Regions from separate parts of the Homo sapiens genome. Here region 2 is linked to region 1. The links are contacts of gene promoters, found by promoter capture Hi-C in blood cells and fetal thymus (Javierre and others, 2016). All regions are on one chromosome and are shown on one strand. Each heading gives the region's core, a stretch centred on a gene start or on the middle of the fragment in contact. The rest is flanking DNA. Distances are from core to core; before and after follow the strand shown.

Region 1 (4,428 bases), core at 733-3,232:
TCTAAGCTGAGTTGGATCGCAGGCAGTCTGCTTTTACATGGAGCATATGCTTATCTGGAAAGGCTTTGGGGAGGCTGATGAGTTTAAGTGGGAGACTAAGATTAATTTTTGGTGCCACCATGAAAAAACAAGGAGTTAATAAATTCACATTTTTAAAAATTACCATTGGTTTATACCTCCCAACACTGCGACTAGTTGTTTTCTGGTCTCTTTAATTCCTCTTCATCCCTCTTCTACCCTTCCCCCATGTCCAGTATGACCTAGAGGGCAGAAAATACTCCCCAATTTTAATTTGTATCCCTAATTTTTAAAAAATTTTTTGTTACCATATGCTAAACAAATACTAAAGATGACAAAGTGTAACATGTATCGGTATAGACACACCTACTACACTCAAGAACAAGGCTGCAGACCAGTACAGTGGCTCACACCTGTAATCCCAACACTTTGGGAGGCTGAGACAGGAGGAGTTCGAGACCAGCTTAGGCAACACAGTGAGACTCTGTCTCTAGTAAAATAAAAAAATTCAAAATTAGCCAGGTGTGGTGGTCCCAGGCTGAGGTGGGAAGATCGGTTGAGCTAAGGAGGTCAAAGCTTACAGCCTGGGCAACAGAGCGAAACTCTGTCTCAAAACAACAACAACAAAAACCCCGCCAAGGCTGCTATTGGTGTTTTGGGGATGAGAAACCCCCAATCAGTATACCATGGATGGGACCACCTTGGACCCAGGTGTGTTTGTCTTCATTGCCCAAGTTCTTTCCACTTACACTGGCCTAACAGAACCTAAGCATGAATGAATTCAACATCCAACAGGTTCGCAAAAGGTGTCTAACACACAAGAGTACAATGCCAAGCATTTCATTCCCATCACTTCACTGCATGAACACAATACTACGAGGTTATGTACAATACCTGCAGTTTAGAGTTCTAAAAACTAAGGTTTAAAGAAGTGGGTTTTCCAAAGTCACACACCTAACAAGTGGTGGAGTCAGAACTCCATCTCACGGGCCCGAAGTGGCTCTTTACTACCACGTGACCCATCTCATGCTACCTCGCGGGGGAAACATTCTTGACCAGCTTTGAGACATTCAAGTCCCTCTTGGGTCACAAATAATGCTGCACTTCCCCTCCAGTCCCCGAGATCTACCGGAAGCAACACACTTAAAAGCCCAAGATAAGCTTGGGTGAGCTGATGTCTGGACCCAAACCAGACAGCACGCCGACTCTCTGGACCCCGGGAGATGCCACTTGCTGAGGCTTCGCCGATGGGGCTCCTGAGGGGTATCGGCCCCTCTCCTGCGACTGCACCCTAGTGCTGTCGTCCAGGGCGGGGAGGGACGGGGTCATTCGGAGGCGGCCGCAGGCCAGGGACCTACCCTCCTACGCGCCGCAGACCGCGGGGTACTCGGACCCCCGCCCCCACCGCCCTTCCTTCAAACTGCAAGCGAGCAGGAGAACGAGGGACGAGCCCCAGAAGAAAGTTCTCCACCTCCCTCGCCCGAAGTTCCATATTCCAGGGAGGCAACTGATGCCAGGCGAAGAGGGAGGCGCCCCGGGGGGACCCCCTCGCGCCGGGCGTTTTCGGAGGCCGCAGGCCAGGGGGCGAGGCGCGGTGTCCGGGTCTCCTCCGCGGGCAGTCGGCGATCCTGGGGTGCCGAGGGAGCAGCGCCCCCTTCCCCCGACAGCGTCCTCCCCGACCTGAGGCGCCCACCCCGGTGTAAGCGGGGGTCCCAGGGAGCCGGCGAGGTCGCCTGGTACCTTTCTCTCCCGCGCCGGACGTCCGCGCCGCAGGGACCAAGGCCGGCGACACGGTGGGGGGCGAGGGGCGAAGACGGGGACTGGCTCCCGCTGGCTCCGGCGGCCCCAGGGCCTCGGCGCCGCCCAGCGCCGTGCCTCCAGCCGCCCGCGCGCCAGGCAGCGCTCTCGGCTCCTGCGGGTTACCTGTGGCCGAGCCCGCCGCGTCCGCCGCCGCAGGGCCCTCTGCCCCGTCCCGCCGGCCCCGCCCCACCCCTGCCGGCGGCTCCTACGCCGGTGCCGCAGCGCCTCCCAGCGGCGAGCCGGGGCACGGCAGGGACCCTCGCGAGAGAGAGGTGGCACCGCGGAGGCCCTGGGGCTGGCCCCGATCTGCAGCCCTCTCCTGGGTGGGGCCACCGCCTTCTGAAGAGTGGGAGGAAGGGGGCCTATAGTAGGGTGAGGTTTTCCGCGTGGGGGTTGCCAGGAAGTGTATTGGGAGGGGAGGAGAATTAGCAGGAGGAACCTCCCACCTTCACTCAATTCGTGGCCAAGTGGATATTTCAATATAACCATAGCTCACTTAACTGGGGCTGCTCAGTACAAACTGAACAACAATGATGAATGACCCAGATTTATTGGGGTAGCTGGAGAGGGGAAAGGAAGCCTTTATTTCTAACAGCTTGACTATAAGTATCTTGTTGGAATCATCCCATATGGAAATGGCAAAAGCATTGAGCGAGCCTGACCCCCATATTCATATCACACTTTACATACCATTATCTCAGTCTGGTTTTGTCTATTTTCATTCACAGCCACTTCTTCAATACCTAGAAGAGCTCCCTGAACACAGGAAGCATTCAATAAGCTACTGTTGAATACATGTAAGATGGATGGGATCTCATTCCACCCTTTGAAGAAGCATGGACAGGTATCTGCTCTCCAAAGGCGGAGAGATGGAAGAGGAGGCAAGCAGCACCCTAAAATGGACTATCAATCTTACCTGAGGTTTTGGGACAAGCTTATCACGAATCTGATTTTTTTTTCTTTCTTGCTTAAAATTTTTTTTTGAGACGAAGTCTCACTCTGTCACCCAGGCTGGAGTGCAATGGCACCATCTAGGCTCACTGCAACCTCCGCCTCCCAGGTTCAAGTGATTCTCCTGCCTCAGCCTCCTGAGTAGCTGGGATTACAGGTGCCCGCCACCATCCCTGGCTAATTTTTGTATTTTTAGTAGAGATGGGGTTTCACCATATTGGTCAGGCTGGTCTCGAACTCCTGACCTCGTGATCCTCCAGCCTCGGCCTCCCAAAGTGCTGGGATTACAGGCATGAGCCACTGCACCCAGCCGACTTTTCTTATTCCCTCTGAAACAGGCCTGGTTTCCAGGAGAAAAGAAACATGATGATTTCTTCCTTTTCCTTAAGATGTTTGTTTCCCTCTCTCCTTCAGGGATCATTAGGCAGGAGAGATCCCAAGAGCCTGTTTCCACACTAGGAAGGGGAAGTTCTTGATTTTCTCCTACTGCTTCTGAAATTTTCCCAACCCCATAGTCACAGCTGCAGTTTTACCTAACAGGATGTGAAATCTCTCTTCTGAGTATCCTTTGGCCTTTTCCAGACTTTTTTTTCCCCCTTAAGATGGGGCCTTGCTGTGTCACCCAGGCTGAAGTGCAGTAGCCCACTGCAGTCTTGAACTCCTGGGCTCAAGCAATCCTCCTGCCTCTGCCTCCTGAATAGTTGGGATTACAAGTGTGCACCACCATGCCCAGCTAATTTTTTTATGTTTAACACAGAGGAGGTCAAGGCTGGTCTTGAACTCCTGGGCTCAAGTAATCCTCCGGCCTCAGCCTCCCAAAGTGTTGGGATTACAGGTGTGAGCCACCGCGCCCAGCCCTTCTTCAGATTTGTGCCCCATTCCTGTTGCTCTACACCTGGAGCTGATAGAAGAACACATTTCCTTTCTCTGCTGGCTTGTAGCTCCAGGTTTCTCTCCAGGCAGGTTACTAATGAGTTCCTAGATAACCCTCAAAGTCAAAGTTTGTACACATGACCTTTCTTTTTATTTTTTGAGATGGAGTTTTGCTTTTATTGCCCAGGCTAGAGTGCAGTGGTGCAATCTCGGCTCACTGCAACCTCCACCTTCCGGTTTCAAGCAATTCTCCTGCCTCAGCCTCCCAAGTAGCTGGGATTACAGGCGCCTGCCACCACGCCCAGCTAATTTTTTTGTATTTTTAGTAGAGACGGAGTTTCACCATGTTGGTCAGGCTGATCTCGAACTGCTGACCTTGTGATCCACCTGCCTCAGCCTCCCAAAGTGCTGGGATTACAGGTGTGAGCCACCGCGCCCAGCCACATGACCTTTCAATGTGATCATTTCTCTCTTGTACTTTTCCACATTGAGTTTTCCTAGCTAGTCCCTCGAATAAACTTCCAAAGATGCAAATGCTCAGTTTCCCTGATAGGCTTTTAAAACATCACCAGAAAGTCACATTGAGATGAGATTTTAAGTTATATTTGTGGGTAGTCAGAGCAATGACCCCGAAAGAAACAGAAAGCCCAAGCCAGCCTGCAAGACATGTGAGCGCTCCTGGGAACTGACTGGTCTGCTTTTGTTCCCAGACTTTGATTAATGGGGATTCCTGGCAGGAGGTCTCATGAGAGCCAAAGCAGGCAGTGGCTGAGCTGCTTGGAGATC
Region 2 (4,280 bases), core at 855-3,354, 1.0 Mb before region 1:
AGCCAGCAAATTCAGTAAATAACTCGGGTTTCCCCCGCTGCAGGGCCGGGAGAAGTGAAAGGCTTAATTGTGGCAAGAGCAGAGCGCTGTGTAAGTGCTGAGTGTCTTCATTGTGCAGCATCCTAGGAGCTTTCCTTCACAAAGCCTGCTCAGCAGGTCCCATAATAGCTGGAGAAAAAAATGTGAGGAGGGAGACTCTAACATATCAAGTATTTCCCTGGGAGTTTCTCATTTCAATGAGAAGAATATTCTCTAATTAAAATGCCACTACATTTTTTTTAAAACAAATTGCTGTCTAATTTCCCTTTGATCTTTTTTTTTTTCCATTTGGGTTGTAAGGTTTTACAGAAACTTTACAAACGTTTAGAGTCTGCAGTTATTTTCTTTTATTCTGATTAAACTTCAAAGGACGAAATGAAAAGCCATCATAGCAAGCTAAGCTTTTTTTCTGTGTATGCAATAAGCATTTATGGGGCATCTCCAGCGTGCCTGTCATTGTGCTGGGTGTAGGAGATACAAAGATGAATAAATACAACACAGACCTTGCCCTCACTGAGTTCAGTGTTTCCAGGAGGTGATCACACCATCAACAGAACACTGGAATGCAACGTGGTAACAGCAGAAACACCATCACACAGCCATCTTACATAGGGCACTGTGGCTGAGCTGTCTCTTTAAATGAAACTTAAAGGATGACTAAAATTCACCCAAAGGACAGCAAGGACATTCCAGGCAGAAGAGATAACATATAAGCACAGGTTCTGGGGTGGAAAACATCATGTCATGGCCTGTGTGTGTGTGTGTGTGTGTGTGTGTGTGTCTGTGTGTGTGATTCTGTCTCCGTAATGAGAAAGCGTCAGAGTGGGTATGGTTCCGGGAGACTTTACTGAATGGCATGGGCACAGGCCCGCTAACCTAAGCAGGCCGTAAAAGAATTCTCTGAGCTTCCTCTGAAGTAGGTCATAAGGCCCTCGTTCCATGGGTGAGGAAAAGATATGACCTTCCCTCCCCTACATTGTTATTGTGGGGTGTGACTTCTATACGTGAAGCAAGGCCAGCCACATCCTACATCATATATCGGTCTGAGGATTCAAAGGTTTACCTTAACAATCCGGAAAGAAATTTAAAAATGATTCCTGCATAAATAAATTAGACTTTGTGAGTGTTTTAAACACATACACCCCTACTAAAGGATTTGCAGATACCTTTGCTGACCCTGGAGGGAAGAATTACCTTGTCCACAGTTCTCCTGTGTAGTGACTTGAGGGGCACTTGCCTACTGGGGGCTAACCCAGGGCTCAGAAGGAATGACTGGAAATCTTGTTAAGATGAAGATTCTGATTCAGTGGGCCAAGATTTATCATTTCTAACAAGCTCCAAGGTGACGCCAGTGCTGCCGGTCTACAGACCACACTTGAACATTGAGATCTAATCCACTCGCTCCCCGCCCTGCCCCCCAGTCGTGATGGCACAGCAACTGAGATGAACCATAGGGATCCACTGCCCTCAACTCCGTGGCCAATGGTGCAGAGGCTGCTAGAAGACTGTCCAAATCCTCCCTGCACCCGAGGCACAGGGTCCCATCCAGCAGGAGTCCAGCCAGGCCCTCAGGGCTGGCAGAGAGCTGACTAGTATGTAACTAAGTCCACGGACCCAGAATTGGAGGGTGAAAGTGGGGAGGAAGGAGGTAGAAATTGTGGGATGGGGCTGGTGCTTGCCCAGATATCTCCTATGATAGGAGCTAAGAAAGATACTAAGGGACATAAAAAGGATGGAAGAGCTTGGGCAAGGGCCCAGGCAGAGCCTCTGAGTCATGGCATCAAGCAATGATTATGTGCCAGGGACTGTTTGCATGCATCACATAGATGTCACATTTCATCTCCACACAACATCCTTGCAAAACAGATTTTAAATCCCTGCTAACAGATGAGAAACTTGAAGTGCAGAGCAGTTCAGCAAATCACTCAATCTCAGCTGGCACACAGTGGAGCCCAGCTCACACCCAGGTCTGCACAATCTGAAAGCCCAGGTCTTTCAAGTACCCCCCACCCCCACTGTGCACTATCTTCATAAAGATGGATGAGACGGGACGTTATGCCCTAGGGGAGGGTCTTTAGATATCTGAATCTGAAAGCAAGTGATATCGGTGGTGACTGAAAGAGGTGCTAGGCCAAGAGAAAGCAGGTCAAGAGAAGGTGACATCTAAAGAAGACCTGAGTATCTGGAACTGGACCACCTTTGGACAAAGTGGCCTGGGCCTTCCTGGTCCTGAAGGGGATTTGCCTTCATGTGAGCCAGCCAGGGATTCATGGTGCCTCATAGTCTTGGCATGCACTGGTTGGTGGGCATCTTGGCAGAAATGGAATATTTACCTGAGATAAAAGAAGATAGATGTATTAGTTCATTATCACACTGCTATAAAGACATACCCAAGACTGGGTAATTTATAAAGGAAAAAGGTTTAATTGACTCATAGTTCCGCATGGCTGGGGAGGCCTCAGGAAACTTACAATCATAGTGGAAGGTGAGAGAGAAGCAAAGTCACATCTTACATGGTGGCAGGCAAGAGAGACAGCAAATGAGTGAAAGGGGAAGAGCCTCTTATGAAATCATCAGATCTCGTGAGAACTCACTCACTATCACCAGCGAGGCCCATGGGGAAACTGTCCCCATAATCCAATCACTCCCCACCAGGTTTCTCCCTAAACATGTGGTGATCCTATGGGGATTACAATTCAAGGTGAGATTTGGGTGGGGACACAGAGCCAAACCATATCAACAGAGAACTAAATGGGAAAGACCATCACATGACAAGGTGTCTAGAACATAGTAAGCAATCAACACTTGGTAGCTGCTATTTACTATTATTGTTGTTGTGGTGGTTGTTGTTGATGATGATGAGGCTCAAGACATGCTACCGCAATACATAGCACCTCAGCATTTAAGAAAACAGAAGCAGGAAGGTCTCTTTGACCTTTTCCTGCCATTCTCCCCTGAAGCAGGCCATGAAAGAATTCTCTGACCTTCCTCTGAAGTAGGTCCGAAGGCCCTCATTCCATGAGTGAGGAAAAGATATTACCTTCCCTTCCTCACATTGTTGTTGTGGGATGCTATTTCTGCACATGCTTAACAACCAGTCAGCAGTATGCTAGGAACATTCTCAGGCATAATTGTATATAAAATATTTCTGAAAATCCAAAGTCTGAGTAAGTCCAGCGAGGTGGCCAAACAAACCAGCCAAAGCCGCATAACTTATTATGAAGGCACATTCACCCCATGGTGTTTTACATCACTTTTATTTAGGTATCAGGATGATGTTAACAGGTGGTCAGTCACTGCTTATCCCTACTTGTCCCTCCTTACTGAGTTCTGATAGTTTAAAAATTGTGTTTCTAGATGGAGGGAGCCTCCCTGCCGAAAGAGTCTCCGCCTGGAATTGAAAGACCCACTCTGCTCCTCACTGATGTGCTCTCAGTCTCCTCATCTGTAAAATGGAGACAATCAAATCACACCTGTGCTGCCCACCTCAGGATCATTGCTGCGAGGACCGAGCAAGATGACGCGTGTGAAAGAGGGGCAAAACTGCCAAGTCCTCCACACATAGAAGTCATGCGGACTCTGCAGACGTCTCGCCATTCTATTCTAATTTGGGAGCTAATTCTTTATTAAAATTTTATTTTTATACCCTCCGTGTTTCCTCTAAATGCCTCAGATCCTCTGAGGAACCAGCTGGCATTTACTTCCATGTGTACCTCCATGAAAGCTTACATGGAACTTAAATGAAAAATTACATGCATATATCATTCATATGTAGATATACGTATGTATACACACACATAATTTTTACATACACATAAAATTTCTTCTCTGTACTAAATTTAAAGGACTACTCGTTAAAGCGGGTGAGACATTTGTACAATCAGTTTAAAAGATTTTTATTTAAAAACGGAAATTGCCCAAAGCAGACAACAGGAAATCATTCCTCACTGCAACTCAGATGGAGGAAGCCATCTAATTCTTGGGAATTTAGACACTCCTGTAGTAACGTAGCACAAAAATGGGCCTGGCTCAATCTGCTCTTCACATTTTGGTAATTTAAAAGGACATAACGGCATTTTATTTCAATGGTAATTGCAAACTCATGCAGAAAATGTAAATGCACATTTCATGATTAGCTTGCAGCATAAACTATGGCTTCTATTAATGTATTCCAATTTGTAATTCTTTTCACAGTATGAGATTTGAAAGCTGTGATTAAAATTAATTAGGTTAAGTAAAGT

What was found. The method cuts DNA at HindIII sites, captures the fragments that hold promoters and counts their contacts. A CHiCAGO score of 5 or more calls a contact.
Region 2: a fragment that was not itself captured here is called in contact with the fragment with the promoter of ANKRD6 in region 1 in 4 of 17 cell types (fetal thymus, total B cells, total CD4 T cells and 1 more); the score reaches 6.8 in fetal thymus.

Annotation. Positions count from the first base shown.
Region 1 is chr6:89,430,706-89,435,133 of GRCh38, reverse strand. ANKRD6 (ankyrin repeat domain 6) reads right to left here and starts at 1,982. Exons shown (of 16, transcript NM_001242809.2): 1 at 1,759-1,982. It overlaps LOC124901360 (a long non-coding RNA gene), which reads left to right. Exons shown (of 2, transcript XR_007059675.1): 1 at 1-1,717; 2 at 2,547-4,428. RefSeq lists a silencer at 1,711-2,190. The HindIII fragment of the contact is 1,573 bases long and covers 1,182-2,754 here.
Region 2 is chr6:90,480,878-90,485,157 of GRCh38, reverse strand. No RefSeq gene overlaps it. Among named protein-coding and RNA genes, the nearest start is that of MAP3K7, 100 kb to the left of the region's middle. The HindIII fragment of the contact is 3,323 bases long and covers 443-3,765 here.